Regions from separate parts of the Homo sapiens genome. Here regions 1 and 3 are each linked to region 2. Evidence: promoter capture Hi-C in human tissues and cell types (Jung and others, 2019). All regions are on one chromosome and are shown on one strand. The core of a region is centred on a gene start or on the middle of the fragment in contact, and the rest is flanking DNA. Distances in the headings are between cores, read along the strand shown. Region 1 overlaps SPINDOC (spindlin interactor and repressor of chromatin binding). Region 2 holds the start of STIP1 (stress induced phosphoprotein 1). Region 3 overlaps MARK2 (microtubule affinity regulating kinase 2).

What was found. The method cuts DNA at HindIII sites, captures the fragments that hold promoters and counts their contacts. A contact is called where the count stands out against the background at its distance.
Region 1: a contact is called between a fragment that was not itself captured here and the fragment with the promoter of STIP1 in region 2, in 2 of the 25 tissues and cell types used here (dorsolateral prefrontal cortex and thymus).
Region 3: a contact is called between a fragment that was not itself captured here and the fragment with the promoter of STIP1 in region 2, in 2 of the 25 tissues and cell types used here (dorsolateral prefrontal cortex and mesendoderm cells).

What each region holds. Positions count from the first base shown.
Region 1 is chr11:63,816,117-63,819,684 of GRCh38, reverse strand. It overlaps SPINDOC (spindlin interactor and repressor of chromatin binding), which reads right to left. Exons shown (of 6, transcript NM_138471.3): 2 at 1,551-1,880; 3 at 1,320-1,469; 4 at 1,033-1,158; 5 at 683-883. Among named protein-coding and RNA genes, the nearest start is that of SPINDOC, 4.4 kb to the right of the region's middle. The HindIII fragment of the contact is 4,226 bases long and covers 1-3,568 here.
Region 2 is chr11:64,184,343-64,187,978 of GRCh38, reverse strand. STIP1 (stress induced phosphoprotein 1) reads right to left here and starts at 1,808. Exons shown (of 14, transcript NM_006819.3): 1 at 1,709-1,808. The coding sequence starts at 1,717. LOC124902686 (a long non-coding RNA gene) reads left to right here and starts at 2,298. Exons shown (of 2, transcript XR_007062712.1): 1 at 2,298-3,636. RefSeq lists silencers at 1,596-1,655, 2,356-2,495 and enhancers at 2,616-2,685, 3,309-3,636. The HindIII fragment of the contact is 11,787 bases long and covers 1-3,636 here.
Region 3 is chr11:63,907,341-63,910,874 of GRCh38, reverse strand. It overlaps MARK2 (microtubule affinity regulating kinase 2), which reads right to left. Exons shown (of 19, transcript NM_001039469.3): 18 at 2,571-2,615; 19 at 1-1,998. The coding sequence ends at 1,638. Among named protein-coding and RNA genes, the nearest start is that of RCOR2, 8.1 kb to the left of the region's middle. RefSeq lists a silencer at 324-618 and an enhancer at 2,741-3,414. The HindIII fragment of the contact is 7,074 bases long and covers 1-3,534 here.

The DNA.
Region 1 (3,568 bases), core at 286-2,785, 370 kb after region 2:
TCTCTACTAAAAATACAAAAATTAGCTGGGCATGGTGGCACACGCCTGTAATCCCAGCTACTCAGGAGGGTGAGGCAGGAGAATCGCTTGAACCTGGGAAGCAGAGGATGCACTGAACCGAGATCGCGCCACTGCACTCCAGCCTGGGCGACAGAGCAAGACTCTTGTCTCAAAAAATAAAAAATAAAAAAATAGGCCAGGCGTGGTGTACTTTGCGAGGCCAAGGCAGTTGGATCACCTGAGGTCAAGAGTTTGAGACCAACCTGGCCAACATGGGAAAACCCTGTCTCTACTAAAAATACAAAAATTAGCCGGGTATGGTGGCGCACGCCTGTAATCCCAGCTACTAGGGAGGGTGAGGCAGGAGAATTGCTTGAACCTGGGAGGCAGAGGTTGTAGTGAGCCGGGCTTGTGCTACTACATGCCAGCCTGGGCAACAGAGCAAGATTCCGTCTCAAAAAACAAACAAACAGAAAAAGAAAAGCTCAGCTTTCAGGCCAGCCTTCCTCATCATTCAGATCCCCTGCCCCGGCCCCGTGTACCAGGAAACCTGAGCACCACCCACCCCACCCACCCCACCCACCCCTACTGTGGGCTCTGCCATAGAGCAGCCTCTCTGAGGCCTGGCCCAGGAGCGCTGCCTGCGAGGTCCCTACTGTGCTTCCCTCTCAGGAGGGCTCACCTGGAGAGGGGCTCTCCGCCCGGGGAAGGCCTCCTTCTGCCACTTCCCTGTCTTTGGGTGAGTCCTTGCTGTCTGGGCCCCTGAGCTGGGTGTGGGAGAAGAGCTGCAAGACGAAGCCGGCGGGGAAGCTGCCGTCAGTGAAGTGTCGGACCTCGGCTGGTGCTGCGAAAGTCTCCGTGGGCGAGTCTGGCGATGGGGGCTCTGGAAGGGAGGACGGGATGGAACTGTGAGTGAAAAAGCCTCAGGAGCTGCAGGCGCCCTGCGCCCAGGCCCTGCTCCATCCTCACTGATGCGGATTTCCTCAGAGCACTGCGGCCAGAGCCCACGCCTCCCCCGGGCCTCCCCTTCACCTGGGTCAGGGTCCAGGTTTTTGGTCATAGGTCTGCCTCTTTTCTTTCTGACTGGCTCTTCCCCTGGGGGTTCCTTCCATCTCTGACCACGGGGCTTCTTATTTCCTGGCTCTGTGGCAGGGACAGCTGCAAAAAGAAAAGACCTCATACCCTTTTAAAGAGGCCATCCCCGAACCCTGCCACCCCAGGGCTCCTGAAGATACCTGCCCAGAACACAGGGCCTGTATTTCACCCTGTCCCCAAACCCCCACCTCCACCGGGGCTCACTGGCTTCTCTGTTGACTAACCAGGAAGCTCGAGGGGGCGGAGTCCCCTGGGCCGGCTCCTTTTAGGGAGGGATGGGTTATCCTCAGAGTCAAGGAGAACGACGATTTCGGCTGGCATTCTGGCAGCGTCTGGGTTGGCGTCTGGGTCTGGGTGGGCATCCTGGCCCGAGTCTGCAGGGAGCAAGAGCACAATGAGCTTCTAGTGCCCCAACAAGTCCGACTTCTCCCTTCGCCAGCCCCAGGACCAACTACCTGAGTTGGGTGGGGACGGCTGCTCAGCTCTCACGTCTTGCAAGAGGGCCACCCCTTCACTCCAGGCCTCCAGGATATTGCTCTTCTCAGAAGGGCTCAGGTCCAAGGTGTGAGGGTGCTGCTCCAAGATGTGCGAGCGAGCTGTGTCGGCCGAGGGTGCCCGGATCTCAGCGCCACACACCATGCACAGTGCCCGCCCGCTGCCTCCTGGGCTGCTGCCCACCAGGAACTCCTGCTCCCAAGACACCTGCTGCTTCGGCTCCTCACAGCCATCACTGCCTGCCTCTAGCGGGCTGGGTCTAGGCGGTGGGGTCTTCTCCTGTTGGGTCACTGCGAGGGGAGAGGGGGAGGGTGTTATCACTAAAGGTGCCCACAACCAACAACACTTAGCACGTCTCCAGACTCAGTGGTTTGAGTGGGATGGGGGAGGAGAGCATTTCTGGCCAAAGTGTTCTTCTTCCTTCCCCTGGAGCCCATGAGGCACACGCCACACTCAACACAGCCGATGTGCCCGGGATCCCACGACTCTCGCGTCTATACTTCCTCTTGATCTAGTCTTGGACCTTAGGACTAACTACACATACTTTCCCAACAGGCTGCATTCTTGCAGGTCTCCAGCCTTTGCACATCTGTCCAGACCACCCTAATTGGGCTGGGCAACATCATCCCTGCGAAGCTTTCCAGAACCCCAATCCCTGACAATAGATTTCATCCAAATCTGACTTCTACACTTTCTTGAGGATGAGGAAGGTAAATTCTTTTAATTTTTAAATTTTATTTATTTATTTTGAGACAGAGTCTCACTTTGTCACCCAGGCTGGAATGCAATGGCGTAATCTCAGCTCATTGCAGCCTTGACCTCCTGGGTTCAAGCGATCCTCCTGCTTCAGCCTCCCAAGCACCTGGGACTACAGGTGAGCGCCACCATGCCTGGCTAATAATTTTTTTTTTAAAAGATGGGGGTCTCATTTTGTCACCCAGGCTGGAGTACAGTGGTGTTATCATAGCTTACTGCTGCCTTCAACTCCTGGACTCAAGGGACCCTCCAGCCTTAGCCACCTGAGTAGCTAGGGCTACAGATAGATGCATGCTATCACACCCAGCTAATTAACAAACAAAAAAATAATTTTTAAGAGATGGGGTCTTGCTATGTTGCCCAGGCTGGTTGTGAACTCCCGGGCTCAAGCAATCCTCCTGCTTCAGCCTCCCAAAGTGCTGGGATTATAGGCATGAGCCACCATGCCCGTTCTAAAGGCCACCCCATCCCCTCAGAACTCGCCTCCCTTCTCAGTGCTCACAGAGCATTTACAGCCATGGTCCCACTCCTATTGCTGCCTGATACCTGCTCTTTGTGTACACAGACAGACCATAAGCTTTCACAGGGCATCACCCTTTCCAGTTCAGCAAAGAAGGCAGCCTTAGACCTGCATCAGCCTGGAAGCTCAGTGCTTTTACGAAGTGCCCATGATCCTTCACGGCTGCATCTCCCTCCTACCTTCCAGAGAGGATGGGACAAAATTAAAACACAGGAGGCCCTAATACCTGGGGGCTGCATGGAAGAGGTGGTATGAGAAATAGGAGCCTCGGCTTGCATGGATACAAGAGGTGGTGTCTGAAAGAGATACGAGATATGTCTTGTACCTATCTCTCATGCGACCATGGGCAGAAATGACCTCTCAGTTGCAATCAGCTTTCTTCCCTACTAGTCTTCCAAAACAGCTCTCATCCAAGTCAGCAGTGCTAAACTCTGCGGTCAGTTTCTCAACTTCATCCTCTGCCGATCACCTCTTCCATCTTGATTTTCATCACTTGCGTCTAGGGCATGACCTTCTGTTGGTTCTTCTTTTGCTTCCCTGGCCCTCTTTCTCAGTTATGTGTGCTAGTTCTTCCTCATCTCTTCTCAATATTCCCTCCCTTCCTCTGGCTTGTTGCTGAAGACCATCTCCCCTCACTAGAGCACCCCATTCCCCTTATGCATCACCTCCAACACAGCACACATCACCACCTGGCACTTGTTT
Region 2 (3,636 bases), core at 559-3,058:
CAGGCTGGAGTGCAGTGGCGCAATCTCGGCTCACTGCAAGCTGCCCCCAGGGTTCACGTCATTCTCCTGCCTCAGCCTCCCGAGTAGCTGGGACTACAGGCTCCCGCCACCACGCCCGGCTAATTTTTCTTCTGTATTTTTAGTAGAGACGGGGTTTCACTGTGCTAGCCAGGATGGTCTCGATCTCCTGACCTCGTGATCCGCCTGCCTCGGCCTCCCAAAGTGCTGGGATTACAGGCTGAGCCACGGTGCCCGGCCCCAGATCCTTTCTTAAAGGTAAAAGAGCAACGTCTTATTCCAGAAATCTTTTCCTCACCTATACTACAGCCCATTTAACCCTAGATACAACTGAAATATTATATGGGCACAAAAAAGTTTACTAACTTCATTTCCACTCTTTTTAATACAGCAAGGAAGCTCGAGCTTTGCCTAAAGCAGCAACTGCTACAAGAGACCAAAGGCTCAGCTCTGTAGCTCACACCAAAAAAAGGATGGTAGTCACTAGTCCATCGAGATGTCTTATTTAAGGGGAGAGTGTGGGCGATCTTAGTTTTATGGCCCTGAAGTAAGAACCAGATACCAGGTATAGTTTCAGAATTGTCACCCCCAAGTGTTATGGGCCCGGAGCGAAGACAGTAGTACTCCCGAGCGGGAGGATGATTTCTCGGAGGTTGGTAGAGGTTTCTTGGAGGTTGTTTTGTCCTTTTTCTTCCGATGAATCATTACAGCTCAATGACAGCTTCAAATCGAACAAAACCTCTAGGCCTTTCATAACCGCAAGCTACTGAGGACATAACCAAGTCACTGAAAGGAAGCAGCAACCGCTTCAAACTCGGCCCCTCAAATGCTCAGTAGAGGCCCATAACTTCCAGCGGTTGATCTCTGTAAATTGTCTACAACCACCCCCGGGTCGTCAGAAACCCATCTTTCAGACCCACCTTTCGGAAGTGTTGGTCCTCGGTCACTCGACAATCACACACACAAGCATACAAAAAGAGGGGGAGGGGCCGCAATACATTTGTAAAACACTGTCAGAGATGGAATTCGTCCCAAGGACTTTTGCGGCACCCTTCCCTTTCCCGCATCAGGTAGAGTCGGTCTGTCGCTCCTCAGACCCCCGCTCAACGCTCTCCCACCCTGACCTTCTCAGATGTAGAAGAGTAACATTTGCCCCAACTGCATCCCAGGCTGCTAAGATCCTCGGCTACTCCCAGTGTATCCCCGTCCCCGCTCCCTGGATCCGTCCAAGTTCCTCGTGGCTAAGTCCCGAGCGGTTTCTCCGTCGGCCGTCTGAGATCTCCCGGAGGGCTACCTCGCGGGTGCGGACCCCGGCCCCCGGCCCACCTCCACCCCGCCCCCTGCGGCCCGCACCCTCCCCAACATGGCCCGCAGCCGCCCCCTCGGGACGCCTTCAGGGCCCGGTCGCGACCCCTCTTCCCGCCGCCGGCCGGACTCACCCAAGCTGTGGCCTCCGCCGGGCCCTCCTCGCCCAACCAGGGGGCGATGGGCGCTCCCCGCGGCCGGCCTCGCTAAAGATCCCGCTCCCGCCCGCCGCCCGCGGCCCTCACCTCCCCGCCGCCGCCCCGTCCGGCCCCAGCGCCGAGCTCCGGTCTCCTGGATCCGGCGCCCGCCCCGCCCCCCTACCGCGGCCTGGCCACCGCCGGTCCCCGAGCAGGCTCGGGGCCTCAGCCCGCCCCTCCCCCTTCACCTGCTCCATAGCGCAGCGCGGTCCGGAACCCCGTTGAATCGAATCCGTCCGCTCCGCGTTCCCAACCGCACGCGCCGCCTTCTGGAACCTACTAGAAGCTACCGGGACCCCGGCTCCCGCCCCTTCCTCGCCTGCTCACTGGTCGAGTTCTTCTAGGGGGAATGTCTGTGCTGCTCTACTATTGGCTTGAGGTCCAGCCCATCATCTCCACTTCCTTCTCATTGGACAGCGGGGAGTAATTCCCTCAACCCTGCCTCCCCCGCACCTCAGGATTGGGCGCTCCTCTATAAACCCACCCATCTCAGGCTCCACGAATGGAGGGAGGAGCGAACTTCTGCGACACGGATTGGTCTTTTGCACTGCCAATCGTAGCCGCGCTGGCCGCGCCCATTGGTTCTGATCGTTCTGGAAATTTCCACCTCTCCCATTGGGCTGCCGGACTCCATGTCGGAACCGCCTTCAGAATGAGAGCGATTCCAATTGGGCGGAGGGTTGCCAACTCTTTGCGCTGATTGGTTTAAATCGCTGCCCTTCAAAAGGCCGGGTTTCGCCCCGCCCCTGATATATGGGAGTACCGGCTGCAGTCGGGGTCTGTAGCTGTGTCGCCGGCGGCTGCGGGGCCTCTGGGTTGCTTTCCCTCTCGCTCCCGAGTGCCGCGAGTTCCAGGCGGTCCCCGGGATCGCCAGCGGCACAGGGCCCCAGCCCTTCGCCCGCGCATCGGGATGGGGGTCCTAGCCGGTGGGAGCTGCCTGTCCCTCGAGCGCCAGCTACCCGCGTTGTCCAGCGCTCCGGCCTCGGCCCGGCCCTCCTGCCTCCTGGCTGTTAGGTTCTGAATGTTCCGGAAATGCCACGTGACCGCGAGGGCGCTTGGGCTTGGGCTGGACAGGCCGGGGATCTCACCGCGGCGGGCCCGGCTGTCCCGCTTGGGCGTCCTCAGTGGAACCGCACACCCTTTCTCAGCGCGCCGGTCGTTTGGTCCTGTAGGGCCGAGGGGAATTCGTGCGGTGTTGAGCACGCGGGAAGCACTTAACGAAAGGGAGCTGCCCCTCAGCCCTCGTGAGTCCGATGTAAAGGAGTGAAGGAGACGAAGAACTGAATCAGTAGTTGACCGCCTGTGAGCTGGCGAGCTGTGCCCTGGTAGGGCCTTAAATCCCAGCCCCAGAAGTCGGAGGCAGGGCAGGCACCCCAAAGCGTGGAAGAGATGCACCTGCGGAGTGAAAATGCTGCTATTGCTTCTAGGGTCAGCCTTGGTTCCTGGAACAAAGGAGCCGCATGACTCGGGTCTGGCGATGATGTTGGGCTCTGCAGTGTCCTCATCCTTCCCCCTCTCTGGGTAATGATATCTTCCCAGGGTTTAAAGTGTGTCCTCTCTGCCAGTAGCTTGTCTCCACAGCCTCATCTTTAATTCCACCTGCCCCACCCATTTTGGACACTGCAGCCAAGTTGCAGCAGATCCGCAAACCTGGTAATCCCTCACTTGAAAGTGCTGGAGGCTTTAGGATGGGGTTCAGGGCCTGTGCAATCTAACCGCCTGCTTTTTTTTTTTTTTTTTTTTTTTTTTTTTTGAGACGGAGTCGAATCTCACTGTCTCCCAGGCTGGAGTGCAGTGGCGCCATCACAGCTCATTGCAGCCTCAACCTCCTGAGCTCAAGCCATCCTCCCACCTCAGCCTCCCAAGTACCTGGGGTTACAGGCAAGCACCATTACGCCTAGCTAATTTTTCTGGGTTTTTTTTTTTTGTTTTTTTTTTTGTATAGATGGATTTCGCCATGTTGTCCAGGCTGGTCTTAAACTCTCGCTCTGTCTCCCAGGCTAGAGTGCAGTGGGGCAATCTCGGCTCCCTGCAACCTCTGCCTCCTGGGTTCAAGCAATTATCCTGCCTCAGCCTACCAGTTAGCTGGGATTACATGTGTGCGCCACCGCGCCCG
Region 3 (3,534 bases), core at 1,019-3,518, 280 kb after region 2:
CCCAGCCCCCTCAGAGCACCCGGGCTGTTCCATAGGGCAGGAGGGGGGAAGGGAGGGAGGGGGAGCCCTTGGTCTGAGCCGCAGTAGGAGTGTGGGGCAGGAGGGCTGAGGTTGGCAAGGCCCCTTCCTAGGACGCAAGGGCTCGGCTTAATCGCTGAGCCTGGCCTGGGAGCGGGGGTGATGAAGAGGGGTGGAGTCATCATAAATCAAAAAAAAAAAAAATAAAATAAAATAATAAAAAATAAAACCCATCACAAAAAAATGTACAACTCAGGTGAGGGTAGGGGCAGCCTCTGTGTAGGACTCCCACCCCCAATTTCTCAAGAACAGAAACAGCAGAGAAATAAATTAAGGGATGCAGTGGCCACCACCAGCCAAGCGCCCCAAACCGCCCACGCCCACACTGGCCACTGAGGGTAGCAAGCTGGGAGTCGCTTAGCCTATCTGTCCCCCACCCTGTGGAGGGCAGACGCTCCCGGCCCTGCTGCCTAACTCAGCCTTCTGCCAGGTGGCCCTCGGCAGTGTCTCCTGAGAGGAGGGGGCGACAGTGTCAGGAAGAAAAGGCAAGGCTGAGAGATGAGAGTGGTGAGGGAAGTCACTGCTATGGAGAGAGCTGGTGCCCAGATTAATGCCAATGAAGGGGAAGCCATGGGGAGAGGAAGGGCGAGGGGGCTGTGCTTTCAGACAAAGGCTCCCCCATCACAGAGTGCCCAGTGGCCCTGCTCTGGAGACCAACAGCCCAAGCGGCCCCCTGGGGACCGAGAAGCCAGTCTGCCCTCCAGTCCCCTCCCCTCTCCCAGCCCTGGGGTCAGCCCCTCCTTCTACCCGGGAGGGGTGGGAGAAGATGGCACAGACTTTGAGGGAACACACGTCCCCACAGCAGCTTGTGGAAGGAAATGCCCAGCTCTGGGGAGGAGGGGCAGAGGGTACAGTGTGGAGGGAGGCGGAGCCTTGTGCCGGCCCTCCAGCCTCAGCAGCCCCGGAGCAGCCCCCAGCCCCACCCACTGCAGGGCTGCGCAGCACCCCCGCCCCCTGCCCCACCGCCCAGGCCTCCAGCCCAGGGGCCTGAGGTCAGGGGAAGGCCACCTCTGGTGGTTTGCTTGGAGGGGAAGGAGGGAGGAGAGGGGAGAAGCCCACAGTGGGCCTGGCGGAGGGCCTGACGGGAGCTCCACCACTCTTGCCTGAGAGTGTTCCAGCCCTGAGCCACCCTCCCGGGAAACCCCACAGATCCAGTCTCGACTGTCCCAATGGGGCAGGGAGGAAAGGTGGCCGCTGGGATTTTTTTTTTCTTTTTTCTTTTTGGTAATAAAAAATTTCTTGGTTTAGGCGAAATACTCTGTGCAACCGCAGTACCGAGGGGGAGCCCTGCCCCCCCATCCACCCTCCCCTTCCTTTGCCTCCAGTAGGGGAGAGGAGAAGGGGGAATCTCTGGGCAGGGGTGAATGTGGGGTGCTGGAGAACAATCTCCCACCCCCCACAAACATGTAAGAGAAAACTGAGAAGGGCCAGGGAGGGGAGAAGTGCCAGCAGGGGAGACACACCAATCCATCGCTGCAGTCTCGCCCAGGTGGGGCGGCGCAGCGGCCGGCAGCCCGTCCAGCTGGCCCGCCCCCGCCGCCCCCGCTCCTGGCAGCCTGTTAAAGCTTCAGCTCGTTGGCTATTTTGGAGGCAATGTTTTTGAAGGCCATGGAGGTGCCCGATATCCGCTTAAATCGAACCCCGTTGAGAGAGAGCCGCGGCAGTTTGCACACCTCCATCTCCCACTGCACGAAGTCCTCGTGGCCCGGCGTGCCGTGCATGCACAGCAGCATGTACTTCTCATGCAGCTCGCTCTGGCAGCTGTTCGCGTCCAGCACCTTGCGGATCTCCCGCATCATCTCGTTGGGCTCCATGGAGCTCGTGGTCTTCATACTCCACGTGAAGCGGAGGGAGCGGGGCTTGGCCTCCCGAAATTCTTCCTTTTCTTTGTCGTTGCCGCCACTGCCCACCACGTGAGGTCTGTGGAGAGGGCAGAGGCGGGCGTCACGGGGGGGCTGAGGCACCCCACCCCAGGAGAGCCACCCTGGCAGACAGCCCCTGAGCCCAGAGAGGAGAGCGGGAGGGAGCAGGAGCAGCCAGGCGTGGCCCCTGGCCTGCGGGGGCGGAGGGTGGCAGTCCTCCAACCCCCATCTCTCAGGACAGCGAAGGGGAGGAGAAGCCAGCCTTGGGGTAGGCGGGGTGGGGTCAGGGAAGACACCAGTGCCCTCAACAGCACGAGCACAGACTCTCTCTCCAGAAAGAAGCCTCCGAGCACAGGGAGGTGGGATAGTCCAGGGGTAGGAATCTGTAGCCCCAACCACCCGACCCAGAACTCCGACTTCCAGAATATACCAGACCTGAGGAGAAGGGCCCGTAACTCCTGCAATTGGGTTTGGGAAGGGGAAACTCTCTGAGGAAAGGGAGGCCCCAGAGGGTAGGGACAGGGCAGAACCACGGGAGGAAGAGCCAAGTGGCAGAAGGAAGAGAGGAGCAGGAGGCTGTGGCAAGCCCGGTGGCCCGGGCAGGGCCAGTGCTGGCTCCAGCCCTCTCACCTGAGCGTCTCCACTCGGTCTTTGCTTTCAGGTTCATTCAGGTTCCTCAAAAAACAGAGCGAGGGAGAGTTTAGTGCTGGGATCTCTCGCTCCTTCCGCCGCCACAGACCCAGATGAGAGTGGGTCTGGGGAGGTGCCACCAGTGGGTGGGCAGGACCCAAGCCCAGGGCCCTCTGCCCATCACCTGGCAAGCCAACAGGGCTCTGCAGCACCTCACACTGGCGGCTCAACCATTCCTTTCCAGCAGGGAGCCCAGCACATGGGGCTTGTCCCTCCCCACATTCCCAGATCTGTGCCGGGGAGAAGGAGCCTCTGCTCTGGGGGAGGAGGGGGAGTGGCTGTGCACGCACTTCACTGAGCACACTGAGCACACGGCCCGGCACGAGGCTGCTCCCCCACAGCCAGGGCTCACGCGCTGTTCTGGGGGTTGCAGGTGTGAGTGCGTTTTTGGAGCCACACGCTAGGGTCTCAGGACTGCAGTCCTTTTGGAGGAAAGGGGCTGCAATGCTTTGAATCTCTGTAGGAGGAGGGGCCGTGGCTACGCAAGGGCCTGTCAGGAGACTCAAAGTGCCAAGGCCTGGGTCTGCATGGTAGGCACCTGGGGATGGCTTCCTGCTGCTGAGTGGAAAAGGCGGCCTCCTCCGACCTTTCCCAACTCCCCTACCTGCTGGCCTGCCAGGCCATCTGCTCATACGCAGGGAGGATGAGGGTGGGGTGGGGCAGGGCAGGGCAGACACCTTGGTTGGGTGGGTGGGGAAGAGGTCTGGCCCCGCTGAGCGGCTTCTCCAGCTCCTGGCTGGAAGATGGGTGTCTGGAGCTAGGAAACTGGGGATTGCAGAGGAGGAAGGATATGAGAGGAAGGAGGAAGAGCAGCAGCACATAGAAATAAACAGGAAGACACAACCAACACAGGGGTGCACACAAGCGCACTGCGAGCAGGGAGCCCGGCTGTGCGAGGAAGGCA